Regions from separate parts of the Homo sapiens genome. Here region 1 is linked to region 2. The links are contacts of gene promoters, found by promoter capture Hi-C in blood cells and fetal thymus (Javierre and others, 2016). All regions are on one chromosome and are shown on one strand. The core of a region is centred on a gene start or on the middle of the fragment in contact, and the rest is flanking DNA. Distances in the headings are between cores, read along the strand shown. Region 1 has its middle 62 kb from the start of POU2AF1. Region 2 holds the start of COLCA1 (colorectal cancer associated 1).

Region 1 (4,708 bases), core at 1,704-4,203, 140 kb before region 2:
TAATATGGTACATTTGTTATAATTAATGAACCAATACATTATTATTAACTGAAACCCATACTTTGTTCTGATTTCCTTAGTTTTACCTATTGTCTTTTTCTGTTCCAGGACCACATATGACATCCAGTCATCATGTCTGCTTTGCCTACTCTCAGTTGAGAGAATTTCTCAAATTTTCCTTGTTTTTGATGACCTTGACAGTTTTGAGGAATGTTGGTCAGATATTTTGTAGAATGTTCCTCAGTTAGGATTTATCTGATGTTTTTCTAACGCTTGGACTGGAGGTGTGGGTTTTTGAGAGGAAGACCACAGAGGCAAGGTGCCATTTTCATCACGTTGTATGAAGGGTACATGCAATCAACATGATGTATCACTGTTGGTGTTGACCTTGATCACCTGGCTGAGGTAGCGTTGGCCAGGTTTCCTCCACTGTAGAGGTTACTCTTTTTCCCTTTCCACACTATGCTCATTGGAAGAAAATCACTATGTACAGCCCACACTTAAGGAGTGGGCAGTTGCCTTATCCCTCCCCGAGGGTGGAATTAAGTTATTTGAAATTAACGTAAGTTAATCGAATGCAAGTTATTTGAGATTCTTCTGCATGTGAGATTTGTTGCTTCTTCATTTTTATTTATTCACGTGAACATTTATTTATATCAATATGGACTTATAGGTATTCATTTCATACTTTAGATTTAGATAGAGAGTTTTTTTTTTTCCCTGTCTTTCAAAATGATCCAGTGCTGGTTGTTGTGAGCTCTGCCAGTGGGCTACGGGGTCCTTTGGACATACCTCATGATTGTGGGTTGTTGTTGTTGTTGTTGTTGTTTTTCGAGTACTTCCTTATATTTTTGGCACTATAAGATGCCCCAGGCTCATCTGGTGTGTGTGTGTGTGTGTGTGTGTGTGTGTGTGTATACATTTTTTTTGAAACAATCTTACTCTGTCATGCAGGCTGGAGTGCAGTGACTCGATCTTGGCTCACTGCAACCTCCACCTCCCTGGCTCAAGTGATTCTCTTGCCTCGACCTCCTGAGTAGCTGGGACTACAGCTGTGCACCACCATGCCTGGCTAATTTTTTGTATTTTTATAGAAATGGGGTTTCACCATGTTGGCCAGGCTGGTCTCAAACTCCTGACCTCAAGTGATCCACCTGCCTCGACCTCCCAAATTGCTGGGATTACAGACGTGAGCCACCGCACCTGATCTCATCTCGTATATTTCCTGTCCCCGTCCTAGAATTGGCCATATCCCCAAGGAGTTCTGGTTCCTTTTTATTGGAGAATGTTATTAGAAACCAAAGTCTGGGTGTTAGCTATGCTCTGGTCTCTTATGTTCAACTCACTTTTCTTTCTTTTTTTGTTTTTTGAGATGGAGTCTTGCTCTGTCACCCAGGCTGGAGTACACTGGTGCGATCTCGGCTCACTGCAACCTCCTCCTCCCGGGTTCAAGTGATTCTCATGCTTCAGCCTCCTGAGTAGCTGGGATTATAGGCATGCACCACCATGCCTGGCTAATTTTTGTATTTTTAGTAGAGATGGGGTTTCACCATGTTGGCCAGACTAGTCTTGAACTCCTTACCTCAAGTGATCTGCCTGCCTCAGCCTCTCAAGGTGCTGGGATTACAGGCGTGAGCCACCATGCCCGGCCCAACTCGCTTTGCTTTTCCCTTTCTGTTAATGCTTCTGTCCCCTGCCCGTCAACCATGGGGGTTTCCCAGGATTAGTCACACATTCAAGTCAATAACAAGGAGTTCTTACCCTGTACAAGAACTTCATGAGATCAAAAGCGAGGCACAGTCACGGAGTTTATAGTCAGGCGTGGGAGAGGCATGGATATATTATAAACAGCCCAAGAGCAGACAAGGACAGAGAAGTCAATCCGTAAGGCATCTCTAAGGAACTCATGACTAATTCAGACTGTGGGATCTGGGAAGTCTCTGAGCTGAGAGTTGAAAGAAGAAGGGTGGTGTATTCTCTGTGGTCTGTTCCCAAGCCCATAAAATCTCCCTTGACTCTGGTGCTCAAGGAGCCATCTCTCTCTCGGAGGAGCCGCTGCTGATGCTCTAGTTTGCTTCTCTCTTCCTTCTCAATACTCCTTCCTTCCTGTGGGAACATGAGCAGACCCTGTTCTCTCCCCTACTCCCCAGAGCCCTGAGATATTACATTATGAGATTTTCTTTGCTAATATTTTATTTCTTAAGTTAGGTTGTGGGTACATGGGTGTTTATTATTGTATTCTTCATTCCTTTTTGTATGGCTTGCATATTTCATAATAACATTTGAAATGTATTTGTGAAAAAAAAAAAAAAGAAAAGAGAGCGGTCTCTGGCCCTGGCCTGTGTGACCTTGTGCCCTCACTCCAGGAACCAAGACTCTGCCAGATGACTGCCACTCCCAGCCTAAGCCTGGGAAAGTGCAGCTGGTCTGGGCCAGATGGGTCTGCGGGTGCCTGTCTGACCAGGTATTGCATACATGTTGATGTGACTCAGTACCTAAGTGGTGTGGCAGATAGTCACCTATCCCCTCCTCACTCTCCTTGTCCCCTCATCTCCATGACCCACCTCTGACTTCTGTAGAGTCTCAGAGCTGCAACATAGTGACAACCCTTCTCTACAGCAGGTGCTTGTTGCTGGTGCCATTCTGCAAGGGCTGGATGGGACAAGTCTGGGGCATTCCCCCTGTCTTGGGGCAGCATCTTCGCCTCAGCACTGACCTGACTCAAGCTTCCTTATCTCCCATCTAAAGCTATCTGTGAACAAAAATCTGAAAAGGGCAGATCTAGGTCTGGCAGCAACTGAGAAAAACCAAAGTTCCTGCCAACAGCCAAGGTAGGTAAGAGGCAGGCCAAACGGGGTCAAATGGGGACACCGCCCAGGGGTAGGATGTTGGTTTGAGTCTCTGGGGAAAGAATGGAAAGGATGTCAGCTCCTAGTACATGCAGGCTGGTAACTGTGATGTTCTATTTGCAAGGATAGGTTATTTAGACATTGGGACCAGGAAACTCTGTCTCTGAACTAGTTACAGGGGCTGGTGGCTTCTGAAAAGACCTCTTTAGCTGGTGTGACAGATTAAAGATGTTGCAATTTCTTTTCTTTTGAATCTGCTTGACTAATAGAATGTAGCAGAAGTGAGATTCTGGGATTTTAGAGCCTAGGTCATGTGAAGGCTTGAAGCTTCTGCAGAGTTCTTTTGGGACACTCTCTCTGGGAGCCTTGATCTGCTAGGCTGGAGAGGCCATGTGCAGGCCCTTTGCTCAACAGTCCCAGCTGAGCCAAGCCTTTTAGCCATACTCACTAAGTCACCAGCCATGAAAATGAAACCATCTTAGATCCCAGATCACAGAGTAACCCCAGCCAATGCCAACAGAGCAGACTTACCCAGCTGAGCCCTGAACAGGTTTCTGAACTACAGCACTGTGAGATAAAATAAAACAACCGTTGTCTTAGGCTGCTAAGTTTTGAGATTGTTTGCTACACAAAAACAGATAACCAAGATGGCTGGGGCACCCCTATTCAGGCCACCAGTTCAATGACCAACTTCCAATTCCCGCATCAATATGAGAGATGGAGGATCATGGCTCATTCTCAAAATGACCGGGCGGAGGAGCTGGAGCCAAAACGTAAAGTGCTGAGCATGTCTTTGAAAGGGTCTTCTAGAGGCTCTTTGCTTGGGATGGCTCTATGACTCCTATAGGTGAAGTGCTGAAGTAAATAGGAAAACTGACCTAGGAATGGCCTCCAGATGATGAGGCAAAGTGTGCAGAAACTGAGAGGGGGTGTGAGTCTGGGAGGGGAAGTACGAGGGGGCTGGACGGCATCTGGAAGAGGAAGGTCCTGAGAGACACATAGGAGGGAGCTGGGTTCTGGGAGGAGGACTTGGGGATGAATGTTTCTGTAAGGGAAGTAGAGGGCGGTGGGGGGCACCGAGAGTACAGGCAGCCTTGAGCTGGTGTCTGGCCAAGGGTTGTAGCAGTCCTTGGGCTGGTGTCTTCTCCTGCTCCATCTGCGGCTGTGCTGGGCTCTCTTTAAAGAGCCCTTCTGGGCATCCAGATGAGCTCACACAAACAGTGCAGGTGCAGGTCTGGCCCGTAAACCACAACAACTGGGGCCTGTGCTGCCACAATGCGCTGGGCAAAGCCTCCAGAGGGGGAGAAAGGGTGACTATTTGTTTAGCATCATCAGCAAGAGTTCCAGAACCCATCAAAAGCAAAGCAGAAACTTTTGTATTAAGGAGATTAAACTTTAAACTCAGCTGAGAAGGCTCTGCTGTTTGAGTGGCTTTGTTGTGCCTGGCATTGTGTGATTATATGCAAATCACCAGGAAGCCTCCCTGGGGTCCCAACCGCAGAGGCTTAGCTGCCCAGCGGGTGGGTGTGCGGGACAGGGGGCAGCCCACGTGCTAGTCAGGTAACACCCAGTACCCAGGCCGGGGCAGCCTGCTTTCCCTTAAGTTCAGGGAATTGGGGATTTGAAAATATGTTTAATGTGTTGGCCAGAGATTTCTGGTGGATGGATAGGACAGCAGGGACAGAGGTGCCACCGGGAAGGTATAAATGGAAACCTAAGACAGTGTCCAGTTAGGACGGGGGAGGTTCACATATCCAGGGACCCCCTGACCACATCACGCCTTCTTTAGCATCCTCTCTTTTGAAGCTTAGGGTAATGTATGGGGTCACCAAGGAGATGAGGAAATGTTTTGGTTTTCC
Region 2 (4,877 bases), core at 321-2,820:
CTGGTTAAAGCAGAAAGGGGTGGCCTGGAAGCTGTCTGGGAAATGGTGTGGAGCACTTTGTGTGGAATTGAGCAAAGGCTCCGGGTGCATCTCTGTCTGAAGGTAGGAATCAAAGATCTGGTCGAGGCAGCTTGAGTTTTCTTCACATGAAACACAACTGGAAAATTCTCCCCGTTGCAAATAATTGGGCGTGGAAGAAATTGGTTCAGGCTCAAAATACAGTCCTAGAGGAGAAAGGAAAAAGGCAGGTTTTTGCATAAAAATTGCAAAACACAGATTTGAATGGAGATCTATACTCTGAATATTTACTATGTCTAGGGGGAAAGGGGGCTTAACAAATCCAGAAAAGTAAACGGGAATGCAATTTTGACTCTTTAGTTGTCCTAGCTAATTCAAGCTCCAGGGAAATGAACATGGTTAATAATGTGGAAACTGGCTGTAAAACTGGTTAGGGCAAAAATAAAAGGATGGTGACCCAATTTGTGTCCAAGTGTCACAGTCAAATAATGGCTCAAACTTCCCCTTTCTTGGGCTGTAAAACCATGGACATCCAGCCCCTACCGGCAGTTCACGTAAACCTCTCAGAAGTAACTGACAAAGTTGTTGAGGCTTTGAGAAAACTTCTGATGCTACGGGAAATAATTCTTTTGACTTATGGTGATTGCTTTTTTGAACTTTTCACTCTTACTCAGTAACTTAAGTTTGGAGGAGAGAATTTTGAGAAGTGATTTAAATGAGAATGCAAATGATAATCATGGAAACCAGGAACATAGAGTACCAATTAACACTATTGGCTCGGAAGTACAAAAAGCAAAAATGTTTTCTCAGTGAACATGTTAACATCATGATGTGATCAAAGTAAGTTGTTAAACATCAAACAAAGATAATCAGTAAACATTACTCCTTTTCCATTTTATTATTAATAGGCCCAATTTGTGATAATTATCTGTAAATGCTGGAAGAAGAGAGGATTAGAGTGTGCTCATCAAAGGGACTAAAGGACACTGTGTTCTTCTTGAGGTCTCAAGTTCCTTTAAGGTGAAGCTACGGTGACACATTTAGTGGGGAGAGGCCATAGGCAGAGGTTTCCTTATATACGACCTCCTTAAACTCTTAGCTGTTGAGTAGCAGAGGTAGGAGTGTTTATGTAATCGAGTTATTCTTATTGGGCTGAGAAAACCTACACTTGTTTGAACTGCTTTCTGGGAACAGAGAAGGGGAGGGAAGCCCCTGTCGGCTGGAAACTAAAGGAACAGAGCAAAGGCATTATTTGAGTGTCTTGGGATGTTCTGTATTCCATCTAACAGTGCACTAAAAAAAGATAAGTTCCTGAGAACAATTCTGATTTTGTAGTTCAGTTTAGTTACTTGGCGATGAGGAACTGGAATAAATGTGAAGAACAAACTCTTGAGACAATATAGCAGAGAGTAGAGAATTCAGAAATGAAGACAACATTTATGCTTGTTTTCTTGCTGGGCTTGCATGTGGAGTGACTATGCCTTTTTCACCTTCTGATTGGTTGGATTCCAATTAAATGGTGGTGCCTATCTTAACCCCTGAATCAAGACTGAAAGACTTTTGAGATGGACTTTTGAAAGAGTGTTTGAGGGAACTGTTAATGCTGGCTGTACTGACCTGCAGAAGATGGTGCAACTGGGTCTGAAAGGTGGACACTGCTGCCTCCGGACCGCTGTCAAAGCAAGAATATCACCGTGAAGCAGGCTGAAAGAAATGCTCTGAAGGGAAAGCTAAGACATTTTGATGAGGACTATGTTTCTTTCTGCTATAAGGTAAGCCAGATTCTTCCTTCTCAGAAAAAGTTGCTTTCTTTTTTTTTTTCAATGTTTGACAAATTTTTGTACAAAATATATTGTAAAAAACAAGTGAAAGGGAAAGTGTCAACAAATATTTTATAGAATTTGAAAGACAGGTGCATAGAATTGCGGTAGGTGTATTAAGTCCGTGTAGAATTTAAAATGCCTTTTGACGTTTATAATCCTTTTAAGATTCAATCTGGAAAATTGCATTGGAACAATGAAAACCTGAAATCGAATCATAAAACAGACTTCTTAAATACAACCAATATTATGTTTTATCTAGATCCAATATTTATGTTTGCTTGCTTGGGGAGTTTTTTTCCTAATATCAGATTCTTCTACTTAAATTTTAAAAGTGATTAATTTTTAGTAAAAAATTAATGTAAATAATTTTATGTGGTAAAAATGTAACAGTTTGAGAAAATGCAGCAAAAGGCTTCCTATTAAACTATTCGATTTAAAATTATTAAGGACTAACATTTATTTAATCTCAACTATCTATGGCTTAGTCAATTATTTTTCTCAAAAATTTCATATACCATCTGGCTACTTAGCCTTAGGGAGTCGTTTCCCCAAAGAACACAATTCTTAATTTTGTTAATTCTGAGTAGCTAAAAATATTCACATGTTCTTAGTATACATGAAATATTAAAATAGAAAATATTTTCTTAAAGCTGTGGTTGGTGAGTTGGAACCTACTTTCATTCTAGTTAATGGTCGGGAATTATTCCAGTACTTTGTATGTTTTGTACTACTATCTATAAAAGTTGCTTTTATTTAAACTACTGTATTTAAATACTTAAAAGTTTATGAGACTGCTCTTTTTAACTATTCAAAGTAAAGCAGCCTGCATTTTTCAGTTGAATTAATAATTATACTGAGTAATTTAGGATTTTTTTTTTTTTTTTAAATTTCAGGTGTGGCTTTAAAGTTTAAAGGTACCCGTATTGCTCTGTGATTCTGTGCTGGGAAGCCGAGCTCACCACACCTCTTTTGGGTTACAGGGCATACTCACTCCCATACTCTGAGCCACAGGGAGAGCTGTGCAGGCAGCCACTGCTGAAACAGGAGGCAGTATTAATTTTGAAAACGATCCATGCTGTAATGTCATGAACCAGGAAGCTGGAATCCTTTACCAGCTCTTTATGCAAATATTTGGCTGCAGCTTGAGCTGAAGGACTTGGAAGGAGTGGGTATTAAAAAATCTGCCTCATTGTAGAGCTTTCCTTAACTCCATTCCTCCCCCGGATTGGCCTGTTTGTCTGCCTCCACCCCATGTTATCTCCCTGAGGTGTGTTTACAATATCCTACTTGATATTATCTTTCTAGTCATGGGTTCACTTTCTACTTTGCTCCAAGAATACAAAGAAAGGCAACTCTCTCTTAGATTTCAAACAGCACAAAAATTCACAGTCTACAATTTATAAAAACACATCAAGGCTGTTTAAAAAATTAATGATTTAAAAAAAGAAAGGTAAATGATATCTTTTGATAACGACTAACTCAAGTTTCCTTTTACCCCAAAGGCAAGTGTGTGTGTGTCTGTGTGTGTGCGTGCATGCGCATGTTTGCAAATTGATCTGGCTGAAATAAGTTTTTTAAAATCGAGTGTTCCAATCCGGCATACACACAGTTTCTTCCGGCACTGCTTGAAGAATATTTGAATTCTTTACTGAATGTCTGTCTCAACCTATAACTTCCATTCGTGATTGCCTTCTTAAAATTTTAAATTGTGGATACTACACTGACTTTATAACAAATTAAGATAGATTTCTTGCCACTTTGTAGTATTTGATATAATTAACCCTCTCCTTGGCTTAAAGTTTCCCAGAGGCATCCTTCAACAAATGAACAAACTGGGGATCATCTCTGTTATACCAGAAAGGTCTACACTAAGAAGCAGGCAACATCATCCCCTGGTGTCTGCTACCCTTGCCTACTAAGTACGCTCTCACAGCTTCTTTAGAATCCCAGATCCATCCGATGGCTTCCAGTGAGGGATTTTACGTCTGGCTTTTGTAATTAAATTATATGCGTGTTAAACCTGCTTGCTTGCGAGGGCATAGGCTGATGCAGTCTTAAGGGAAGCAAAGTAGAGCAGGCTTTACTCTGCCTGTTCCTATAAGACACTGGTTCAGAAGTCCTGCTTTATTTCTCAGGAGGGAATTCAGAAAAATTTAAATAAGTCAAACTACTCCGGGGAACAGAAACTGGTCAGATACACAAGTGAAGTGTGTTACCCTCACATTAGCTCCTGTAGCGAGCTAAGAAGGGAACAGTGGCCACACCCATCTGTAAGGGCCCAGCAGCAACAGAAGTGCCACACTCACATGGGGCTCTCCAGGTGCAGCTGAGCAGAACTGTAGCAAGTACCAAAGCTCCTTAAGGAAACGTTACATTTTATTATGAAAGTCTTGATGATGTTTTTCTCCAGAAGCATTTTCCAGTTCCCTTGTACCTGGTTTTGTTAATTATATAACCATCTCTGAACTGAAGGGGTTGAGGCTATCAGACTCCTGCTTAGTATCGTCAGATCTGCAGAATGATGAATTTAGAGCATAAAGAGCCAACAGAAGGGTTTTTATATTACACTAAGAAAAAGACCTTAGTCCTACTTTTAGCGTTGCCATGAGCAACTTCAAGGTTTTGAATTTTGCCTGTAATCGAGGTACAGATCTCTGATCTACTTACCTCCGCTGGTTGTTATAAAAACTAAATGAAATAGTGGCTGTGCAAAAGTGCTTTAAAAGAAGAACCACTGTGAAGTCCTCTAGAAATGTAAGGGAGTGTTAATGCGTTACCTGAAATTCTGCACATGGAGGTCCTTACTTTTCCAGCTGCATGTGCTGTATATGCCAAATTGCAGCTGGCTCGCATCTGAACTCTAAACTCTGAGCAAAGGGTGTGAACAAACATTACCAAATAGCTGGCTTTCAATCCTTGGTTGGAATATTAGTTGCTTTCCCCAGATAATATTATTATTTCTCAAATAATGACAACTAACATTTATTGAGCACTCACTATGTGGAAAGCATTCTTCTAACGGCTTTGTATGCAATA

What was found. The method cuts DNA at HindIII sites, captures the fragments that hold promoters and counts their contacts. A CHiCAGO score of 5 or more calls a contact.
Region 1: a contact is called between a fragment that was not itself captured here and the fragment with the promoter of COLCA1 in region 2, in 4 of 17 cell types (activated CD4 T cells, non-activated CD4 T cells, total CD4 T cells and 1 more). The highest score is 6.8, in activated CD4 T cells.

Annotation. Positions count from the first base shown.
Region 1 is chr11:111,438,720-111,443,427 of GRCh38, reverse strand. It overlaps a transcript of BTG4 not described here. Among named protein-coding and RNA genes, the nearest start is that of POU2AF1, 62 kb to the right of the region's middle. RefSeq lists enhancers at 1,508-2,707, 3,544-4,130 and silencers at 4,039-4,108, 4,129-4,178. The HindIII fragment of the contact is 450 bases long and covers 2,729-3,178 here.
Region 2 is chr11:111,301,741-111,306,617 of GRCh38, reverse strand. It overlaps COLCA1 (colorectal cancer associated 1), which reads left to right and starts at 1,570. Exons shown (of 2, transcript NR_169237.1): 1 at 1,570-1,790. It overlaps POU2AF3 (POU class 2 homeobox associating factor 3), which reads right to left. Exons shown (of 5, transcript NM_001271458.2): 3 at 1,636-1,690; 4 at 1-224. The HindIII fragment of the contact is 13,879 bases long and covers 1-4,877 here.